Linked DNA regions of Homo sapiens: region 1 is linked to region 2. Evidence: promoter capture Hi-C in human tissues and cell types (Jung and others, 2019). All regions are on one chromosome and are shown on one strand. Each heading gives the region's core, a stretch centred on a gene start or on the middle of the fragment in contact. The rest is flanking DNA. Distances are from core to core; before and after follow the strand shown.

What was found. Contacts are between HindIII fragments. The study calls those that stand out against the background at their distance.
Region 1: a fragment that was not itself captured here is called in contact with the fragment with the promoter of SBDS in region 2 in 1 of the 25 tissues and cell types used here (IMR-90 fibroblasts).

What each region holds. Positions count from the first base shown.
Region 1 is chr7:66,809,106-66,815,673 of GRCh38, reverse strand. RABGEF1 (RAB guanine nucleotide exchange factor 1) reads right to left here. Exons shown (of 9, transcript NM_014504.3): 9 at 4,210-6,568. The coding sequence ends at 6,390. It also overlaps the pseudogene GTF2IRD1P1. Among named protein-coding and RNA genes, the nearest start is that of RABGEF1, 72 kb to the right of the region's middle. The HindIII fragment of the contact is 5,505 bases long and covers 1,531-6,568 here.
Region 2 is chr7:66,994,336-67,001,147 of GRCh38, reverse strand. SBDS (SBDS ribosome maturation factor) reads left to right here and starts at 5,562. Exons shown (of 5, transcript NM_016038.4): 1 at 5,562-5,858; 2 at 6,807-6,812. The coding sequence starts at 5,731. TYW1 (tRNA-yW synthesizing protein 1 homolog) reads right to left here and starts at 4,315. Exons shown (of 16, transcript NM_018264.4): 1 at 4,166-4,315; 2 at 2,953-3,083; 3 at 2,194-2,331. The coding sequence starts at 4,169. RefSeq lists a silencer at 4,445-4,564 and an enhancer at 6,129-6,178. The HindIII fragment of the contact is 8,933 bases long and covers 2,526-6,812 here.

The DNA.
Region 1 (6,568 bases), core at 3,034-5,533, 180 kb after region 2:
GTGGATGGTGGGGGGACCTAGGGGGTGGGAGGGTACAGGGCCCAGGAGCCTGCCTGCCCCCCTCCGGGAAGGTAGCTGACACGCCCACTCCTTATTCAGCAATCAGCTGTGGTCTTAGTGCTTTGAAATCAGAATAGGAGCCAGGTGCGGCACCTCACGCCTGTAATCCCAGCATTTGGGGAGGTCAAGGAGGGAGGATGGCTTGAGGCCAGGAGTTCGAGACCAGCCTGGGCAACATGGCGAAACTCCACGTCTACCAAAAAAATGCAAGAATTAAGTCGGGTGAGGTGGCGTGCACCTGTGATCCCAGCTACTCGGGAGGCTGAGGCGGGAGAATTGCTTGAACCTGGGAGGCGGAGGTCGCAGTGAGCCAAGATGGTGCCACCGCACTCCAGCCTGGGTGACAGAGCAAGACTCTGTTTCAAAAAAAGAGAGAGAGAGAGAGAGAGATGGTGGTCTGGGATCCCTTTGGCACATGCTAGCACTTGTCTTCGTTTGTTTTGAGATGGAGTTTTATTCTTGTTGCCCAGGCTGGAACACAATGGCGTGATCTCAGCCCAATGCAACCTCCGCCTCCTGAATTCAAGTGATTCTCCTGCCTAAGCCTCCTGAGTAGCTGAGTTACAGGCTCATGCCACCACAACTGGCTAATTTTTGTATTTTTTTAGTAGAGATGGGGTTTCACCATGTTGACCAGGCTGGTGGTCTCCAACTCCTGCCCTCAGGTGATCCTCCTGCCTCGGCCTCCCAAATTGCTGGGATTACAGGCATGAAAATTTCGGGGAGATTTTCAGTTGCTATTTAATATTTTTTAGCCATATGCATTTTTCTCCTCTCCTTCTGTTACTCCAGTGACAATGATAGATCTCTTTTTTCTTTTAACCATCCCACGGGTCCCTGAGCCTACATTTTAAAAGTTCAATTTTTGCTCTGTTGTTCACATTGGGAATTTCTATTGATCTATATCCCAGTTAATCCATTCTTCGATCACTGCAATTCTAATATGAATTTTTTTTTTTTTTTCAGATGGAGTGTCGCTTTGTCGCCTAGGCTGGAGTGCAGTGGCATGATCTTGGCTCACTGCAACCTCCACTTCCAGTTCAAGTAGTAATTCTCGTGCCTCAGCCTCCTGAGTAGCTGGGATTACAGGCATGCACCAGCATGCCCGGCTAATATTTTGTGTTTTTAGTAGAGACAGGGTTTCACCATGTTGGCCAGGCTGGTCTCGAACTCCTAACCTCAGGTGATCCACTCACCTCAGCCTCCCAAAGTGCTGAGATTACAGGTGTGAGCCACCACGCCCAGCCCTCTAATATGAAATTTAAAAACTTTCAGTTATTGTCATTTTAAATTCAAAAATTTCCATTTGCTTCATGTCTTCAGTGGTTTTGCTGGGGTTTTTCATTTGTTTCAAGCATGTTTGTCTTTAGTTATTGAATTTTTATGATGCCTTCTTTAAAATCTTTGTCAGATAATTCCAACACATGTGTCATTTGGTTCAGATATGATAAGTGATTTTTTTTTTTTGAGACACAATCTCACTCTTGTCTCCCAGGCTGGAGTGCAGTGGTGTGATCTCGGCTCACAGCAACCTTCGCCTCCCGGGTTCAAGCTATTCTCCTGCCTCAGCCTCCTGAGTAGCTAGGACTACAGGCTCCCACCACACCTGGCTAATTTTTGTACTTTTAGTAAAGACGAGGTTTTGTCATGTTCGCCAGGCTGGTCTGGAACTCCTGACCTCAGGTGATCCACCCGCCTCAGCCTCCCAAAGTGCTAGGATTACAGGTGTGAGGTATTGTGCCCGGCCTTTTTTTCTTTTTTTTTTTTTTTTGGCAGAGTCTCACTCTGTCTCCCAGACTGGAGTGCAGTGGCACAATCTCGACTCACTGCAACCTCCACCTCCCGGGTTCAAGTGATTCTCCTGCCTTAGCCTCCTGAGTAGCTGGGATTACAGGCATCCAACACCACGCCCAGCTAATTTTTGTATTTTTAGTAGAGATGACGTTCAGCTATGTTGGTCACGAACTCCTGACCTCAGGTGATCCGCCTACATTGGGCCTCCCAAGGTGCTGGGATTACAGGCAGGAGCCACTGCCCCCAGATGGTCAGTGATTTTTTTTATTGTGTCTTGAAGGTTTGGGGTGTTGTTATGTTAGGAGGCTCTCAATCTAATTTAAATATTCTTTAGCCAATGTCACACTGGTGAAGAAAGTGAGTTGTGACCTCATTATCATGGGTGGAGGTAGAAATCCAGGCTCCCCCCTCAGCCCCCACCAACACCACAGAAGAGGGTGGAGAGGACAGGAACAAACACTTCATTCTCACCTGGCAGGGCTGGAAGTTCAGTCTCCACCCATCCTCTACTGACACTGTGGAGAAAGGGAAGTGCCCTACACTTCCAAAAGCAGGGGGAGGAGTTTCAGGTTCCCCATTCAACCTTTTTAACACACTGAGGAACCTGTGGGCAAAAACTTAAGTATAAATTTCTTTTTTCGGTGGGGTGGGGCACGGAGGCTCATGCTGGTAATCCCAGCACATTAGGAAGCCAAGGTGGGAGAATTGCTTGAGCCCAAGAGTTTAAAACAAGCCTGGACAGCTGGGCGCGGTGGCTCACGCCTGTATTCCCAGCGCTTCAGGAGGCCGAGGCAGGTGGATCACGAGGTCAGGAGATCAAGACCATCCTGGCTAACACAGTGAAACCCCATCTCTACTAAAAATACAAAAAATTAGCTGGGCATGGTGGCACGCACCTGTAGTCCCAGCTACTTGGGAGGCTGAGACAGGAAAATCACTTGAACCCAGAAGGTGGAGATTGCAGTGAGCCAAGATCACACGACTGCACTCCAGCCTGAGTGACAGAGCAAGGCTCCATCTCAAAAAAAAAAAAAAAAAAGATCAGCCAGGACAACATAGTGAGATTCGTCTCCATAAAAAATTTAAATATTAGCTGGGTACAGTGGCACACACATGTAGTCCCAGCTACTCAGGTGGCTGAGACGAGAGGCTAGCTTGAGCCCAGGAGGTCCAGGCTGCAGTAAGTCATGTTCACACCACTGCACTCCACAGCCTGGGTTACGGAGCCAGACCCTATACCCCCCAGCCCAAAGAAAAACAAAAACAAAAAAGAAGAATTTCACGATGGCAGCTACAGAGCCCTAAAGTCCAAGCACAGGGCCCTTTGCAGTCACACCTTTGTGCTTCTCACTCAATTTTCTGTTTTTCGTATCGATCCTGAAAGCTCTTGTTCTCTGTAGGTGATTTATATTTGTTTCTATTGTAAATTGATTTTTTTCTCCACAATGTTTGCTAAGTGGTTAGTAATGGTATATAGGAAAATCATTTTGTACAGTTAGCTTTTATCGCTATTTTAGAATTTTCATCTTTCACTAATATAGAGATGAAATTCTATAGTTTCAATATAAATTCTCTTGGGTTTTCTTTTTTTACATTTCTGTTTTTCAAGACAGGGTCTCACTCAGGCTAGCATGCAATGGTGAGATCACAGCTCACTGCCACCTCAAATTCCTGGGCTTAGGTGATCTTCCCACCTTAGCCTCCCCAGTAGCTGGGACTACAGGTACACACCACCATGCCCAGCTAGTGTTTTTTTTTTTTGTAGAGATGTGGGTCTCACTATGTTGCTGACATTGCTCTCAAACTCCTGGCCTCAAGCATTCCTCCTGCCTTGCCTCCAAAAGCGATTACAGGCGTGAGCCACAACACCCAGCCTTCTCTTGGGTTTTCTACATAAAATAACCATCTACAAATAATAGCTATCATTTGTTCTAAGTTCAGACAACAACCCCATGAAGCAGTAATATTATTAACCCCATTTCACAGCTGAGGGATCTGAAACAAGAGATTTGTTCAGGGCCAATGAGCTAATAAGTAGCAGAATAAAATTCAAAACCAAATCCAAGCCTTCCAGCTTCAGAGTTCATGTCCTCACCAACAGACAATAATAGCTCTATATTGATTACATTAACTCCTTTTTTCTCTACTTTTATGTCTGTTTGAAGACTGAGTACCTTGGTAGAACTGCAAGAACAAGGTTGATTGATTGTGGTGACAGCAAATATTCTTGTCTTCTTAATTTTAACTGACAAATGTCTCTAATGTTTCATTTTTAGGTATAGCTTAACCAGAAAACCTCTGTAGCATGAGAATATTAATAATAATGTATATTTTCCTAAGAAAGAACCAAATCAATTTTTGGAAGAGGGACGGATTGTGAAACTTTATTGATAAAGAATTCCGTTCCAAAGGTGTATTCCAGTCACATTTACCCTACATAAAATACCAACATCTTCTTATTGCAAAAACAGAAACTCCGGCCGTTGTATTGATGCTGACTTAAGAGAAATAGAAGCCTCTATATAAGGCAAGAGTCCATACCAGAAGAATTCGACCAATATGAGATACCTCCAAAAAAATCAACTCAATAACCTACTTTATATGTAAGAGACCCAAAAAAGTCAGCTTTTGTGGGAAGTTGATATGCAGTTTATTGAACAAACAGAGTGTACAGTAACTAAACGAACTGTGTATTTCCAAAGGAATTAAGACCGCATATCTGGATTCACACCTAAAAGCACATAGAAAATTAAACCAAAGAAGGGCAAGTTTTGTACTAAAATCACTTGGGCCCAGGTTATTCTATAAGAAGATTCTCACTGGCATTTGATAGTAACTTATCACCTTCTGTGCGAGCTTGGGAACCAGCTGACTCAGTGAACTGCTTCCTGTCTTCAGTGCGTGATGACACAGATGTGTCAAGCTTAATAGATCTTATATGTAAATTTAAGAATAAGAAGTTTTATACCCACCCTGGTTTTATTCCAAAGTTACTGCTCTGCAATTTTGGGCTCCATCCTTAGGAAGATACTGGAAAAGCAAGAGAACCTTTCTCAGCTGCCTGTGTGAAGTGACGTTGTTCTAGAACGGTGCCCTGGGGCCTCATGCACGATTTCACAAGTATAGCTGCATAATCTGTGGATGTCACTGAATGGAAGAAGAATCATCAATGGTATATTTAGGTTATAGAAGGTTCCACTGAGATAAGAAAAGGTTCTACAATGCAGGTAGCTGTCAAGCCTCCTAAATATTTAACTCGTTTTAGTTAACATCACACTGTGCATTGAGTGCAAGATTCTTTGGTTACACCATATTAACCACCAGGAGGATAACTCCTGGTTTGTAAAAGACATCAGTGGTTCTTAACGGAGGGGTGATATGGCCCCAGGAGACATCTGACTATGTCTGGAGAGAATTTTTCACAGCTCTAGCGGGGGTGCTACTGGCACCTAATGGATATGGATGGCAGGAATGCTGCTGAACATTCTACCATGCACAGGGTGGCCCCACAACAAACACCTCTCAGGCCACTAATATGAATAGTCCCGAGGTTGAAATGTCCTGAAAAAGGTTCAGAAAACATGTCTAGACGTTTGCAAAGTCAAATGTATATTATGGAGGCTGCAAGGCGCCCCTTGCATCTCACAGCTGAGGGACCCCGTCACCTCTCACCATCAGAGGCCCATTCATTCCCGCCTTCCATTCCAGGCCCAGTGCCTGCTCCTTCTCACTGAAGAACTCAATAGAGATTTGCTGAATGAATGAGGGAAAAATAAGCTAGAAGCATAGTTTAAAGTCTTCCATCGACTACATTAAACAGCAATTTTATGTGGCCTAAACTTTATTCTGAACCTTAGTGGTGTCATAGTCTCTGACTATATAGAACCTCAAAGTTAAGGCTAACACGTTCTTAAAGATGGAGTGCACATCTTAAGGGGAGTTTGTCTAAACACTTCTCGAGTCATTTTAGTGGGACAAACCAAATAAAATGGTGCTAAAGGCAAACATTCAATATACTTCATTTTAAACTAAAAAATTAACATATAAAATGCCATGCACAGCAGACACCATTCTTTTTTTTACATATTTACAATTTTACATATTTACTTATCAATATAATTTCTATCTTTACAATTATAAAATTATTCCAAACTGTGGAAGAGTGGTACCATTTAATTTTCTTGAACATACACTTTGTAGCATTCATTTGTTTAATCCTTTAAAAGGCAATTATTTACCAAAACCACAGTGAATGCCAGAGGAAGCACATAGGAAAATCATGGAGGGAAAAAAGATTGAGACAAAATTTGCACACAAGCCTTAAATGAATCTGTATCAGTAACTCAAATAAGTAGTATTTTATTATTAACTAAGGTTCCCCTGCTAGGAAAAACGAAACAATCCCCATATACTGTACCTTTAAAAAATGCTGACATTTATAAGCAATTTAGTTACATTCTAGATCCCAATCAGTTGAGTGTAGTAAGGGCTACCTACAATTTAGGCTCAAATAAATACTCTCCACTAAATTGTGATCATCCTGCATAAACTTGAGGTTGCAGTGGTGGAGGAAGTTTATCATTTTCAACGTTTTCAGAGTCAATAGCTGCTAACGGTTGATTCGGAGGCTTAATTTCCAGTGGGTATTTCTCAACGATGTCTTGAACTTCTCTTGCAATTCCATCTGTCCAATCTATGAGGTCTTTTTCCAGTT
Region 2 (6,812 bases), core at 4,313-6,812:
TACACCTGGATTTGTTACCATCTGCAAGTATTCGTTTGATCTTTTTGATCATTTTTTTTAAAAAGGTAAAAACATGCATAAAGAGGCTCTGAAAAAGGTTTTTTATAAGTAACATTAAAAGGACTTTGCTTTGGCTGCTCAGACACCTTTTTGCTTTTTTTCAGGTTTCCCACCTCCACTGCTTAAGGTTTAACTTAACAACTGACCTTCGACTGTAAAATGAAGCAAAGTATCTGCACTCAAGTAGTGAAAACCTAAGAAGTACTATTCTGCGCAACTTCCACAAGAGGGCAGTAGAACCCTCTGAAGTAGTCCACAAAAGTAACAGACCTTGATTTTTCCTCTAATTTATTTTCATGCTAGCCTTCCTTAAAATCTTTTCCTAGAAAGCACTAACTAGCTGTGACCTGGCTAGGCCTCGTGGCTCATGCCTATCATCTCAGCACTTTGAGGGCCAAGGTGGGTGAATATCTTGAAGCCAGGAATTCAAGACCAGCCTGGACAAGATTGCAAGATCTTGTCTCTACAAAAAAATTAAATAAATTTTTTGGCTGGGAGCGGTGCCTCACGCCTGTAATCCCAGCACTTTAGGAGGCTGAGGCGGGTGGCTCATCTGAGGTCAGGAGTTTGAGAGCAGTGTGACCAATATGGTGAAACCTCGTCTCTACTAAAAATACAAAAATTAACTAGATGTGATGGCAGGCACCTGTAATCCCAGCTACTAGGGAGGCTGAGGCAGGAGAATTGCTCGAACCCAGGAGGCAGAGGTTGTGGTGAGCCGAGATCACACCACTGCACTCCAGGCTGGGGGACAGAGTGAGATACCATCTCAAAAATAAAATAAATTTTTTTAAAATAGCTGTGACCTTGTAACACAGAAACAGGTAGCATCTAGATATAATTAGAGAATGGGACTGGGCACGGTGGCTCACGACTGTAATCCCAACACTTTAGGAGGCCGAGGCGGGCAGATTGCTTGAGCCCAAGAGTTTAAGACCAGCCTGGGCAACATGGCAAAACCCCATCTCTACAAAAAGTACAAAAATTAGCTGGGTATGGTGGCATGCACCTATAGTCCCAGATACTCAGGAGGCTGAGGTGGGAGGATGCCTTGAGCCCGAGAGGCAGAGGTTGCAGTGAGCGAAGATGGCACAACTGCACTCCAGCCTGGGCAACAGAGAGAGACCCTGTCTTTAAAAAAAGAAAAAAAAAAGCAAAAAGGAGAAATCAAAGTACATGCCAGATAATATCACTAAATCCTCACAGTGACCCTGAGATAACCATACTATTACCATCTGCAATTTACCATTTCACAGATAAGCAACTGAAGCTTAGATGGCACTACAGCCAGACACTGTTCCCCCGCAAAAAAGAGAGAGAATGGGAAGCATCTTTCAACTAGATATCAGCTGTATTTACTTTAGTGTCTACCTTTAACACTTTTAGCACTATTAGAAATCAAAACAAGTTTCATTACATAGATGTGTGACGTGAGGCCAGGTGCAGTGGCTCACGCCTGTAATCCCAGCACTTTGGGAGGCCGAGGCAAGCGGATCACCTGAGCCCAGGAGTTTGAGAGCAGCCTAGCCAACATGGCAAAACACCCATCTCTACTAAAAATACAAAAATTAGCCAGGCATGGTAGCAGGCACCTATAATCCCAGCTACTCGGGAGGCTGAGGCAGGAGAATCGCTTGAGGTGGAGGTGGAGGTTGCAGTGAGCCGAGATCGTGCCACTGCACTCCAGCCTGGGTGACAGAGTGAGACTCTGTCTCAAAAAACAAAATAAAAAATAAACATAGATGTGTGATGTGAAAGTCAGGCCCATATTGGAACTATTAGTGCCATCCTTTTTTCCCTATTCCCTACTTCCATACCCATGGGCATCGATAATGGACTCACAACTTTCTCTAGCCTGCTGAGGCAGAAGCAAACTTCAGAACAAAGGCCCCCTCAAGACACTGACCATCAGACACCACCAATCAGCTCTAACTGGGCACAGGAGATGAAACCTGCCTACCGTCACAGAATGGAAAAATATTTGAGGGGAAAAGGCTGGGAGAAAGAATAAAGAAGGTTAGATGACCAATTCAGTTCACTGCTAAAGGACAGTTCACTGCTAAAGTTCACTGCTAAAGGGATTTTCTTAAAATGTCAGGAAACCAAAGGAAAAGCATCATATAAATTTCTTACCTTCGCTGTTCCAGTCTGAGAACCATAAAAAATCTTCACTCCAGACACAAAGATGTCTTTCTCTTGAAGGGAGACATAACCATTTGTCATCAAATCCTGAGCTGCTTTTGGAACAGATTTTTCCTGTAAGTTCTTGCCCTTGAAGACAAATAATTACACAAAATCCATCAAGTCTAAATCGTTTCCCAACTTCAGCAGGGATGAAAATTAGCACAGATACTGACACATTTTATTTTTCTCTTAATCTGACACACTGTATTTTTCTCTTAATCTTTCTGGTTGTATTCCTCAAATATTAGCCCCTTGGTATAATAAGGTCCTTTAATAGGCAGGACCCACATTTTTAAGGCTCATGATTTCCTTTCCCTCCAAGAAAAAACTTTACATACTTTTATCCTATAAGGTATTTTAGTAGAATAATAGTAGGAACTTATTTTCTGATCCTTAATTAATGGAAAGAGAGGACTACTGACCCTTAAAGGTATAAAACAAATTTGTTTTTCATATAAAAGGTTCACTTTTCATTACAAAAATCTTCCTGTATCTTAAAAATGAGACACACCTATCAAAGAAAAAGTAAAGAACTTAATCCAAGATAACTTAGTCTCCAAAAACTTAGAGAAGAAATTTATTTTAGGCATTTCATTAAAATGTCTAAAGACCAAACACAAAAGTAATTAAAGGTTCCTTTTAGTATTTAAATCCTCTATAAAATCTGATGCCTAAATACTCCATTAAAAAAAAAATAACTCCACTTACCTGCGTCTTGATGACAATCTGGACACAAATCCAAAGGCTAATGCTAACAGCAAAGCCCAAATAAATGTAAAACCTGTTTATCCATAATGATATTAAAGGTGAGAAGAGGTCCCATGTATCCGCAGAAGGATCTAAATTTAAAATGACACACACAATTTCATTTAAAGCTACATATACAAAGATATCCATCCCAATTTTAAGAAGAAAATAAAACCAACCTTACATTCAACAACCCAGCTAAGAAATCTAATTTAAAAATCAACTGTTGGCCGGGCACGATGGCTCATGCCTGTAATTCCAGCACTTTGGGTGGCTGAGGCGGGCAGATCACCTGAGGTCAGGAGTTCGAGACCAGCCTGGCCAACATGGTGAAACCCCGCCTCTACTAAAAATACAAAAATTAGCCGGGCGTGGTGGCGCGCACCTGTAATCCCAGCTACTCGGGGGGCTGAGGCAGGAGAACTGTTTGAACCTGGGAGGGAGAAGTTGCAGTGAGCCAAGATTGCGCCACCGCACTCCAGCCTGGGCGACAGAGCAAGGCTCCATCTCGGGGGCGGGGGGGTGGGGAACAACTGTAATAAAAATAACACACTATGTAGTAACGTAATAAAATTATCACACTGTTAACACTAACTCAAAGAAAAAACAGAATATAAAATTGTATCTTCACTTCGAAATGAGCATTTAGAAGCAAGAGAAGGAACACAAAGTAAAAATACTTCATGTGAAATTAATTTTGTTTTGTTGTGCTTGCTCCATAAAAAAAGCTTAAGTAGTAAAAGCACTCTTTTTACTAACTGTACTTTCAAAGGCTCACGGTTAAACTTGTAAAAGATTCTCAAGTAACTGACCTTACACCTCATTTTTTTTTTTTTAAGAGAGATATGCAGGGACCTGGCTTCAAACGTTCAACCTGGGAGCAATTTCAAAAGTCGAGGCCTGAAATTTAGGCTTTACAGGTGCAAAAGTCCTAATACACGTAGGTAAAGTGGGAGGGGTAGTTTTCTGTCTAACCCCCTAGCCTCAAAAGGCAAAAGCCAGGTCAAAAGTAGGGATCAGTCCTCCTTGCTCTCAGCGGCGACTAGCCGGTGCTGTCAAGTGCAACAGTCTCCGAAGGAAAGGGACCGAGGACGCCACTCCGCCCGGAGAGGGTCTCAGTAAAACGTTTACCTCCCCTGCCGCCCCAGGGTCCTTGCCCGCCGAGTGCCCTTACCCATCCTCCTCAGAGCCGACAGGAGACTAGGATCTCGGACCTGGATAGCCCGATGATTCGCACTGGTACCGCGAGACGCACCGAGCTACCTCGCCGCGTTAGCGGCGTACCGAGTGCCTGCAGACCTGTGGGCAGCCATGACACTGCCAGGCCGGTCCTGATTGGTTCAGAGGACGAAGAGGTGGGCCCAGAGGAAAGCCCAGAGCTCCGGGAAAGGAAGCCAGTGCCCGGTGCGCTCTCGGCCCTGCTCCGATTGGCTCAGAGGGGAAAGGGGGCGTGCCCAGAAATAAGCACCTCCCAGAGTTCCAGGCGATGAAGGCGGAGCGCTTCCGCCTCCATTTGGATTGGCTCAGACTGGGAAAAGGCGGGCCCAGAGAGAAATGATTGGCATGGGAAAATTAAAAGAGGAAAGGAGCGGGGAGCGGGGGAAATGCTATGTGGGCCTGTTTGGATCTTAACTGAAATAAACCGACTGTAGAAAGGCATTATTTTTGGGAAACCCGAGGATGGACTCGCTATTAGATGATATTAAGGAATTGTAGTTAATCTCGTCGCGTGTATCTGTTAAGGGCTATAGGCTGAAGTATTTAATGCTGAAACCATATGATGGTTTCTTTAAAATACCCCCAACCGGCCGGGCGCTGTGACTCAAACCTGTAATCCCAGCACTTGGGAAGCCGAAGCGGGAGGATCGCTTGAGCCCAGGAGTTCGAGACCAGCCTGAGCAACATAGTGAGACCTCGTCTGTACAAAAAATTTTTTTTAATTATTTATTTAATTAAATTAGCTTGGCGTGGCCGCTCACACCTGTAGTCCCAGCTACTTGGGAAGCTAACGCTGGAAGATCGCTCGAACCCAGGAGGTCGAAGCTGCAGTGGGGCCATGACCCTGCCACTGCACTCCAGCCTGGGTGACAGAGTGAGACTGACTTAAAAAAAAAACTGTAAATAAAAAAGCAACAAAAAAATGAAAAAAGAATAAAACAAGGATGGCAAAATGTTGATAGCGGGGTGATGGGTACATAGAAGGTTCATTACACTTTTTTGTCTACATTTTATGTTAAAATATTTCTATTATAAAAGGGTGAGTAAATAAAAATATTTATTATAAAATAATTCTATTATAAAAAATATTTATATTATAAAGTGGGTCTGGCCCTTGAATTCCGCGGAACGAGGTGGTGCCAACGCTGTGTTTTAACCCGGTCACTAAACATCCGCGAGCATCCTGTCAGAGCTCTCAGCTCATTGGCGAAAGTAAATACGCCAAGGAAAAGCACCTCCCTTTTTGGGCGTGGAAAGATGGCGTAAAAAGCCACAATACGCAGGCGTCATCGCTCACTTTTCCCCTCCCGGCTTCTGCTCCACCTGACGCCTGCGCAGTAAGTAAGCCTGCCAGACACACTGTGACGGCTGCCTGAAGCTAGTGAGTCGCGGCGCCGCGCACTGGTGGTTGGGTCAGTGCCGCGCGCCGATCGGTCGTTACCGCGAGGCGCTGGTGGCCTTCAGGCTGGACGGCGCGGGTCAGCCCTGGTTCGCCGGCTTCTGGGTCTTTGAACAGCCGCGATGTCGATCTTCACCCCCACCAACCAGATCCGCCTAACCAATGTGGCCGTGGTACGGATGAAGCGTGCCGGGAAGCGCTTCGAAATCGCCTGCTACAAAAACAAGGTCGTCGGCTGGCGGAGCGGCGTGTGAGTAGCCCCCTCCCTCGGGCCTGGGCCTGGGCCTGAGCCGTCACCTCCGAGGCGGCCTGTCTCTGCCCAAGTCGAGTGAATGGGCCAGGCTGGGGTGTTGGCCGGGGAGGAAATGGAACATTCCTGCTGTGAGCATGAGACGTCGCTGTCCGAGCTTGGCGCCTAAGCCAAGGGTTTCTTCTTTATTTGGTTGGTTCGGATTGGGTTGTTGGTTTGGGGTTTTGTTTTGTTGGTGTCATAAAAGCTGCAGCCAAGAAATCTCGTAATTGTGGTCCTTTTCCTAGAATAATGATGGCTGAGAACCTAGTCTTACGAATACTGTCATAGTTGTGGGTACATCTGGTGTCATAGATCTCAGTAGCCCTAGCAGTTTAAAGTGCGTAGTGTCTTCACTGCTGCCATCTAGGGACTGGCATTCCGTGGCAGCAGCTGTCTGCACCCCACCCCACCCTTGTGTTTCTTACGTCCTCCCATGACATTTTTCTCCAGTGAGCAAATGGTAAGGCAAATACGGTTCTGAGTTTTGAAAATGTTCCCTCAGGCCGATGCGGGCAGTTCACTTGAGGCCAGGAGTTCGAGGCCAGCCTGGCCAACATGAAACCCCATCTCTACTAAAAATACAAAGTTAGCCGGGTGTGGTGGCGCATGCCTGTAATCCCAGTTACTCAGGAGGCTGAGGCGGGAGAATCACTTGAACCCGGGAGGCTGAGGTTACAGTGACCCGAGATCGCGCCATTGCACTCCAGCCTGGGCAAAAACAGTGAAATTCCATCTAGGGGCGGGGGTTGGGGGGTAAGAAAAAGAAAACTGCCCTCTACACTAAAGGTCATCAGGGGGATTTGTTGTGTCTTGCCGTTCATGTTGTTGCCATCTCGTATTTAAATGTAAATGCATGTCCAAGTTTCAAGTATATTCACATAGGACTTTCTCTCCTGCCCTCACAAGGGAAAA